Regions from separate parts of the Homo sapiens genome. Here all the other regions are linked to region 1. The links are contacts of gene promoters, found by promoter capture Hi-C in blood cells and fetal thymus (Javierre and others, 2016). All regions are on one chromosome and are shown on one strand. The core of a region is centred on a gene start or on the middle of the fragment in contact, and the rest is flanking DNA. Distances in the headings are between cores, read along the strand shown.

Region 1 (2,985 bases), core at 340-2,839:
AAAACAATATGAGACGGTCTCTCTATTCCCTCAATACAACATCCACATCCTGCAGTAGGGACCTTTTGCAGAATTCTAGATGGCAGGAAGCTTCTATGAACCTAAGTCCAGATTTTAATTTGCAAGGAAACTGAAGCAGATGAATTTTCTCATTGTAAAAAAATGAATGCCTTGATAATATATTTGTTTTTCATAGTAGGCCTTTGTCATTAAAATTGATGCCTGAGGATATAGTTGCATCTTGTGTGGAACAGTAAGTTATTACTCATTGCATACCAGATTTTAGCATACTTGCATTAGTTCATGGAATATGATTTTACATTTACTATTGCAGTTCCAGTGCCATTATCAGATTGCATTTTCCTACTGAATTACAAACAAAAGTGTTATGCTACTAACAATTAACAAAATTTTAATAAGGTTGTGTTTGATGCTATTACTCAGATAATGTGTTCTAAATTGCTTTCCTTTGAATATATTTGCATTAAAGAGGAACTCAATTTGGTTCTTTGAAGAGTTTATCCACTTTCTGGGTAGCTTTAAAAAGACACAGGGAAATTCAGTTTCTTCTTTGCAAGTAAATAGAGAAGAAACAAATTTGCTAAGATCTGTAGAAGTCATGGCAGCAGACTGCTGATGGTTTGAGTTAATGAAATGACTCATTTTGGCTACTTGAGTTGCACAATTAAAATATACAGTAGAGACTGTATATCACATCATAGATGAGAGATAAATCCCCCAGTGTTCTCTTTTTTTTCCTCAAAGCTAATATATTATGAATTAAGAAATTTAAGAGCTCCACATTATTGCAATTCTTGATCAGTGATGCCCCAAATTAAGTAGTAATCTCTTGAGAGTGCACGTTTGTTTGCAGCATTCCTCTTACCCATTTCTGCTAAAATTGTGGTTGTGACGAAAGCAGTTGTTTTCCAAAAGATAAACCCATGTGACCAAGCTAAAACATTTACCTAATACTGACACGTTTTTTGTGGTCTTCTCATAGTTGTCTAGCTAAAGGAGTTTAATGCAGAGAATATAAATACGGAAATAGTGAAACTGAAGTCCTGCTTGCGCAGAAAGCCTGCAGCCGACTTTGGTTTTTAACAGACTCCACGGGGCATTAGAGAAAGTAACTGGGGGCAGTGGGATGGAGGGTATGAAATTGGGTGGAGGGACGAAAACTAAGAGCCCTCTGGGTCTTTTATGTCCTTCTACATTTTGTGTAGAAATAAATGTTTTTACTTTACTTCCACGGTCGGCCCTTCCTCTTCACCTTTTTTTTTTCTCACACGTTCATCCTCTGAATTCTTTCCGTTTACAAATGCTCCCGATTTAGAAACTCATAATACTGTCTGTAAAACTTGCCTGAGCCTGTGTGGTCTGAATTTAGCGACACACTTGTTTAGGAGTTTCGGTTCTCGCTCTCTGTTTGCATGGTTTGGTAACAACACTTCACTATACTAAAAATCATCGCCCGGACCTGCAGGGCTGCACGGAAAACGCTGTTCCTTTTGGTACCCGCCGCAGCCGCGCAGGCGCACCGCCCAGCCGCCCTGACGCAAGGCGCAGGCTTCATGACGCAGCACGCAGTCTCAGCCGACACTGCGCGCGCCTCCAGGCACCGGCGTTAGCGGGTCGCCGACCCGCAATCCCCGCCGCGGCTGCTTGCCTACCGGAGTGTGCGCCGGCACCTGCCGCCGGAGACATGTTGCAAAAACCGAGGAACCGGGGCCGCTCTGGCGGCCAGGCCGAGAGGGACAGAGACTGGAGCCATAGCGGAAACCCCGGGGCTTCGCGGGCCGGGGAAGACGCCCGGGTTCTCAGAGACGGCTTTGCCGAGGAGGCCCCGAGCACGTCCCGCGGGCCGGGCGGCTCGCAGGGGTCGCAGGGCCCCTCGCCTCAGGGCGCCCGCCGGGCCCAGGCCGCCCCCGCCGTGGGGCCCAGGAGCCAGAAGCAGCTGGAGCTGAAAGTGTCCGAGCTGGTGCAGTTCTTGCTGATTAAAGACCAGAAGAAGATTCCGATCAAGCGGGCCGACATACTGAAGCACGTCATCGGGGACTACAAGGACATCTTCCCCGACCTCTTCAAACGGGCCGCCGAGCGCCTCCAGTACGTCTTCGGGTATAAGCTGGTGGAACTTGAACCCAAGAGCAACACTTACATCCTCATCAACACCCTGGAGCCTGTGGAGGAGGATGCCGAGATGAGGGGTGACCAAGGCACGCCCACTACGGGCCTCCTGATGATCGTCTTAGGGCTCATCTTTATGAAGGGCAACACCATCAAGGAAACTGAAGCCTGGGACTTTCTGCGGCGCTTAGGGGTCTACCCCACCAAGAAGCATTTAATTTTCGGAGATCCAAAGAAACTCATTACTGAGGACTTTGTGCGACAGCGTTACCTGGAATACCGGCGGATACCCCACACCGACCCCGTCGACTACGAATTCCAGTGGGGCCCGCGAACCAACCTGGAAACCAGCAAGATGAAAGTTCTTAAGTTTGTGGCCAAGGTCCATAATCAAGACCCCAAGGACTGGCCAGCGCAGTACTGTGAGGCTTTGGCAGATGAGGAGAACAGGGCCAGACCTCAGCCTAGTGGCCCAGCTCCATCCTCTTGAAAGGTGGATTCAGAGGGACCCCCGGGACAAGGGTCTGAGACCCAAAGGCACAGTTTAGAGGATTGGGGGAAGGGAGAACGAACCCAGGGAGCATATTGCTGTAAACGCTTCAATGTGTGTAGCTTTAGGATGTGTTTGCAAAGTTTTGTTTTTTTAATGTTGTGTTATTTTGCTCCAGATTTTCATCTATAAACAAAGGAGCATTTGTTTTGATTTTACTCTTTTTGGTATAAAAAATTTTGCTAGCTTAGTAAAACGAATTGGAAAACTTGACTATGATCTGGAACAGATAATGCAAGAAGGAACACATAAGTAAGTTGCTTTGGTGCCAAGAAAATAAAAAAGCTATTATCAGGTCTCCTAAC
Region 2 (2,985 bases), core at 295-2,794, 3.8 Mb after region 1:
TCCTGGTAGAGACAGCAGTGTATAAAACCCACTCAGTCCTTTGCTTTCATGGCACTTAAATCCTAAAAAGAGATCATAAAGATAGGTAAAATATATGTTACATAGTGCTAAGGAGAAGAAACAAATAAGGGAAGTGTTTGCAGGTGAAAAGGATGATGGGAAATTTTAGATAGGGTAGGTAGAGAAAACTTCACTGAAATGGTAACTTGGGTGAAGAACTGAGGGAGATGAGAGAGCTAGCCATGTGGATATTTGGGGGAAGAGCATTTCAGGCAGAGTGTAGTGAATAGGGAAACCCCAAAGTGAGAGTGCCTGATGTGTTTGAAGAACTCGAGGTGTGGCCAGTGTAGCTTTAGAAAAGTAATTGATGGGAAATAGAGAGAATGGAGGGTACAGATATTTTGATCATAATAAGGTGTTTGATTTTTACCTATAAGTGAGATGGGAAGCTATTGGAAGTCTTTGAGCAGAGTAGTGAAAAAGTATGACTTATGTTTAGCAAGGTCACTCTGGTTGCTGTGTTAATCATAGACTGAAAAAGGGGACAAGGGCAGAAACAGACCAATTGGTAGACCATTAGTACAGATTAAGACGTGACTGAAATGGACAGAGTGGTCACAGTGAGGGTGGTGAGAAGTGGTTGAATTCTTGATATATGTTGAAATAGAGTCCATAGGATTTGGTAGTAGACCAGATGAAAGTGGGAAATAAAGGGAGGAGTAAAACATGATGCCAAAGTTTTTTGACCAGAGCAGCTGAGAGAATGGAGTTGGATAATTCTTATAAATTATTGCATTAAATCTGTGCATCATATCACATGCCCACTTAACTACAGGTAATTTTACCATATAAGCTTGTGGGGGGAAAAGAGGAAAAACAGAAAAAAGGATGGAAAAGCATGTTTTAAAATATAATAAATTAGGCCTTAATGAAAAATTGTCCTTGAGAAACCTGAGATGGAATACTCTAAATCTGATGTGTTCTCTCAATCTTTAGAACTGAACTAGGAATTAACTCTGAGAGTTCATGATGTTATGAGACCCTTTGCCTGTTTTGGAAATTCGGTTGTTTTCAATATTTGCTTTTGCAATGATGGTACCTGTTATTTTTTCTGTAAGGTAGATTCCTACAAATAAGATGTCAGGCCATTAGATCATGTCAATCTAAATATTTGATAGGTTTTGCCAATTACCTTTTAAAAAATAATTTTAGCAAGTTTCATTCCTTAAAATATATTAGGGACTGCTCATTTACCTTGTTTTGATTCATGTATATATAAAATCTGTTTAAGTCTTTATAAATAACCTGGGAAATTGCCTGGTTTTTTGGTCCATTTCTATTGTGGTGTTTGTTTTTTAAATTTGTAAGCATTCTTTATATATCATTTAATTCTTTATTATAATTTGCAAATATTATCTCTACCTACCTTTAATTTTATAGTATCTAGTCATGTGAAATTTTAAAGTTTTTATGTAGGCAAATCTGTCCATCTTTTATGGTTTCTGGGTTTCAGCATGCTAACAAAGTTGATATAAATATGATCTCATATATATATTACAAAAACTTTTTAGAGATAGGATCTCACTCTGTCACCCGGGCTGGAGCAACCATAGCTCCCTGCAACCTCAAACTCCTGGGCTCAAGTGATCCTCCTGCCTCAGCTTCCCAAGTAGCTAAGATTATAGACATGTGCCACTATAGCTAGTTGGTTTTTTTTTGGTTGGTTGGTTTTTTTTTTTTTTTTTGGTAGAGAACGTATCTCAGTGTGTTGCCCAGACTGGTCTCAAACTTCTGGCCTCAAGCTATCCTCCCACCTCAGCCTCCCAAAGTGCTGGGATTACAGGCATGAGCTACTATACCTGGCCAATCTCTTGTATTTTCTTCTGATACTTTTGTGATTTTACTTTATAGACTTTAATTTAGAAAGTTAGATATGAGCATTCAGCATATTTTTGGATATGGTATGATATGGTTTAGATCTGGATTGCATTTGTCATGGTTTGGGAATTATATCTACCTTTTATTTTCTTCCACTTGGGTAGCTGATTGTCTTGTAAGGCATCCTTTCCCCACTGATAATGCCACCTTTTTCTATATTAAGTTCTCACAAACTTTGAAAAAAATCAAGTTTATTGATGTATAATTGATACACAATGAAATGCACCCATTTTAACTATATAGTTTTATTGATTTTGATAAATATATACACTATCACTGCTACTACAATCAAGCTTTAGAACAATTGAATTACCTCCAAAAAGTTCCTTCCTGTCTGTAGTCATTTCTCCCTCTTGGCCCCAGGCAACCACTGATCTGTTTATTAGTTTTCCTACTCTAGAATTGCATATCCATGGAATCAAGTAACATGTACTCTTCCATGCCTGGTTTCTTTCACTTGGCATGTTTTTGAGATTCATCCAATTTGTGTTTGTCACAGATTTTTGTTTGTTTCGTTTTTTTAAATACAATATGACTATACCACAGTTCATTCATTTTCTGGTGAACATTTAAATTGTTTTCAGTTTTAGGCTGTTGCGAATAAAGGTACTGTTTTGTGTGCATGTTTTTGTGTGAACATATGTTTTCATTTTTCTAGGGTAAATACCTTAAATTGGAATTACTGGGTCACATGGTAAGTTTATGTTTAAATGTATAAGGAACTGCCAAACTATTTTCCAGATGATTATACTACTTTACATTCCCATCATCAGTGTATGAGAGTTCCAGTTCTCCAAATGTCAGCATTTGATGTTCTCAGTCTTTAATTGCACACGTTCTGAGAGGTGTGTAGTGGTATCCCATTGCAGTGTTTTTTTTTAAGTGGTACTAAAATACACAACATCAAATATACCATTTTAACTATTTTTAAGTGTACAGTTCAGTGACATAAAGTACATTCACATTATTCTGCAGCCATCACCACTATCCATCTCTGAAACTTTTTCATCTTCTCAGTCTGAAACCCTATCCATTAAACAGTAACTC
Region 3 (2,985 bases), core at 128-2,627, 3.8 Mb after region 1:
TAAAGAGCTGAGTTAAAACATCTTAAAATCGAATATGGCTTAATACTATCATTATCATCAGTTGTCCTGGAATAACTTAAATTCTTCTAGCTTATTGTTGGTTTTTCAATGGTTGGTTATAGTTGTGAGGCGGATACACACACACACCCACACACTTGGCTATACAAAAAAGATGTTCCGAGACTGACAGTTAAAAATTACACTGCTGGCCGAGCACTGTGGCTCATGCCTGTAGTCCCAAAACTTTGGGAGGCCGAGGTGGGAGGATCACTTGAGGCCAGGAGCTCGAGACCAGCCTGGGCCTAACATAGCAAGACACCATTTCTAAGTTTAAAAATAAAAATAAATTTAAAAAAGATACACTGCTATGTACGACTGTTGATATAAAAAATCTGAATACTAGACATGGGTACTCATCTAGTACTTCAAGGGCTTATCAACAAAGTTGCAAGTTGTAACACTATGAATTGTTAGTGATACTCTTTTGGCTTTGCTAGCAAGTGTTGTAAAGCTATACACACACACACACACACACACACACATACACACACACACCTTTTAAAATGGTGACCCTGGTACCAAATATGACTTTAAATGGATTTAATTTTAATGGCTTTAACTACGTTCAGCTGTCATATGGATCAAAATTAGCCTCTATCCAGCTGGGGTCAACCAGGGAGCCACTTTTCTTAACCGACGACCTACTGAACGTCAACAACTGCAGGAGACGGGACTTTACCTTCGTCTCTGGTAAACTAGTTGACACATCCTGTGTTGGCAAGAGGCCTAAGTAGATGACCTTGGTCCTCTAAAATCTGGCCTGCACTCTCGGGGCACCCCTGCAACATCTACAAAGGCAGCTCCAGATAGAAAAGGGTTGGGGTCGAAAAGCCAATAACGGCAGGCACCTGCCCCGCCTCGGGGCTGGGGGGCTATTCCAGCGGCTTCAGCTAACTTTCAGAGCCATTCGTTTCCCAACAAAGTCTGAGGCGTTCCTCTGCTGGGTACACCAAGGGGCTCTGCAACCCTCCTGGGGGGGGGGGTGCCCAGAGGGCTTCCGGAAGTCCCAGGTTTATTCTTTCGGGTCACAGACAGCAGAAACTAAAAAGAGGGATTACCCTTTCTGTCCAGTCGCAAGATGGCGACCGAGCCTGGTGGGACTCCGAGGGGCCGCAGGCCACCTCCTCTTCCCAATGGCCCGTGCGCCGGCGGCGACGGCAAGCGGGAGGGAGGCGGGGCCGGCGAAGGAAGGAGGGGCGGAGCGCGGCGCCCTCCCGCGCGTCTTGGCCCCGCCCCACGTCCCCGCGTCCCGGCCTGGAGCCCTCGCCCGGCCGGGCGGCGCGCGCTGCCTGCCGGGATACTCGGCCCGCCCAGCCAGTCCTCCCGTCTTGCGCCGCGGCCGCGAGATCCGTGTGTCTCCCAAGATGGTGGCGCTGGGCTCGGGGTGACTACAGGAGACGACGGGGCCTTTTCCCTTCGCCAGGACCCGACACACCAGGCTTCGCTCGCTCGCGCACCCCTCCGCCGCGTAGCCATCCGCCAGCGCGGGCGCCCGCCATCCGCCGCCTACTTACGCTTCACCTCTGCCGACCCGGCGCGCTCGGCTGCGGGCGGCGGCGCCTCCTTCGGCTCCTCCTCGGAATAGCTCGCGGCCTGTAGCCCCTGGCAGGAGGGCCCCTCAGCCCCCCGGTGTGGACAGGCAGCGGCGGCTGGCGACGAACGCCGGGATTTCGGCGGCCCCGGCGCTCCCTTTCCCGGCCTCGTTTTCCGGATAAGGAAGCGCGGGTCCCGCATGAGCCCCGGCGGTGGCGGCAGCGAAAGAGAACGAGGCGGTGGCGGGCGGAGGCGGCGGGCGAGGGCGACTACGACCAGTGAGGCGGCCGCCGCAGCCCAGGCGCGGGGGCGACGACAGGTCAGTGTTGCCGCGGCCTGCGCCAGGCGGCGCTGGCTCCCCTCCGTCACTCGGCCGGCCTTCGGGGCCCGCTGTGGCGAGGTCGACACCCCCCTTCCCCGCCCCCCGCCGCCGAGGCGAGTGTTTGGGGGCGCGTGGTCCGAAGGGGCTGGTGCCAGAAGTAGGCCCCTGGTGGCCGCGGCTGCTGCAGCCGTAACTGTCAGTCCTGGCTGAGCGACGGCGGGAGGGTTTTGTCGCCCGAGGGGACGCGAGCGGGCCCGGGGCGGGGCGGGACGTGCGAGGCGTCGAGATTTGGGCCTCCTAGGAGCCAGGCTCTTCGAGCCAGCCGGGGCCCCAGACAGGGAAGGGCAGGCCCTTTCCTTCAAAGGGGAGCCCTTTCTCGGCGTTTTCAAGGTTTTTGGCTCTCTTGGGGAAGACATATTTAGCCGTGTGCTTGGTGGGTTGGGGTTTTGGGGGTGGATTGATGGGAAGGGAGGGCGGATGAAGTGGTATGTCAAGCCCAAGGGTTGTGCGCACAGGTTACTCTGTGTTACCGGCCACCAGGATTTCTGAAGTTGAACGTGAGTTATTGGCTTTGCCAGAGACTGCTGTGTTATATGCAGACCTGTATGCAAGCAGTTGGCCTTTTTTCCCCCCCCTTTTCAGTGTAGAAAATGAAAAGGATGCTTTCCTCATCTTGGTGGTAAAGGCTTTTGTTGGTAAAGGTAGAATTGAATGTACCAAATGCCTTAGTCCGTAAAATTTTAGAAATAATTTTAATACAGACACTGGTGAAGCTTGGCAACCTTGAAAGAGAATTTAGCGTCTACATTTTTTAAATGACTTTTTATGGATATGCTAAATTAGTAACAGTCCAAAATCTGTTTGAGATTATTAAGTGGCGAGGGTGCTGTTGAAAATGTAAACTAATAGCATATGGGGTTTACAGTGCACAGTTAACCTCAATCATGAAGAAATGTGGATATGACCCGTAATTTTGGATCATTTTACTGCCTGCAATATTGAGAGAAGCAGCAAATTATTACAGTTTTTTTTGGGAGACGACCTAAAGTTTAAGAAATACAACTGTTGAA

What was found. The method cuts DNA at HindIII sites, captures the fragments that hold promoters and counts their contacts. A CHiCAGO score of 5 or more calls a contact.
Region 2: a fragment that was not itself captured here is called in contact with the fragment with the promoter of NSMCE3 in region 1 in 1 of 17 cell types (total B cells); the score reaches 5.1 in total B cells.
Region 3: the fragment with the promoter of UBE3A here is called in contact with the fragment with the promoter of NSMCE3 in region 1 in 1 of 17 cell types (total B cells); the score reaches 7.3 in total B cells.

What each region holds. Positions count from the first base shown.
Region 1 is chr15:29,268,426-29,271,410 of GRCh38, reverse strand. NSMCE3 (NSE3 component of SMC5/6 complex) reads left to right here and starts at 1,589. Exons shown (of 1, transcript NM_138704.4): 1 at 1,589-2,985. The coding sequence starts at 1,706. The coding sequence ends at 2,620. All of the region lies in intron 2 of ENTREP2 (endosomal transmembrane epsin interactor 2), which reads left to right. RefSeq lists enhancers at 1,293-1,792, 1,793-2,294. The HindIII fragment of the contact is 8,019 bases long and covers 93-2,985 here.
Region 2 is chr15:25,421,573-25,424,557 of GRCh38, reverse strand. The region is part of intron 1 of UBE3A (ubiquitin protein ligase E3A); the gene reads left to right. Among named protein-coding and RNA genes, the nearest start is that of UBE3A, 16 kb to the left of the region's middle. The HindIII fragment of the contact is 1,378 bases long and covers 856-2,233 here.
Region 3 is chr15:25,437,416-25,440,400 of GRCh38, reverse strand. UBE3A (ubiquitin protein ligase E3A) reads left to right here and starts at 1,377. Exons shown (of 13, transcript NM_130839.5): 1 at 1,377-1,912. RefSeq lists enhancers at 370-1,315, 1,316-2,261 and silencers at 1,113-1,452, 1,813-2,232. The HindIII fragment of the contact is 4,364 bases long and covers 1-2,690 here.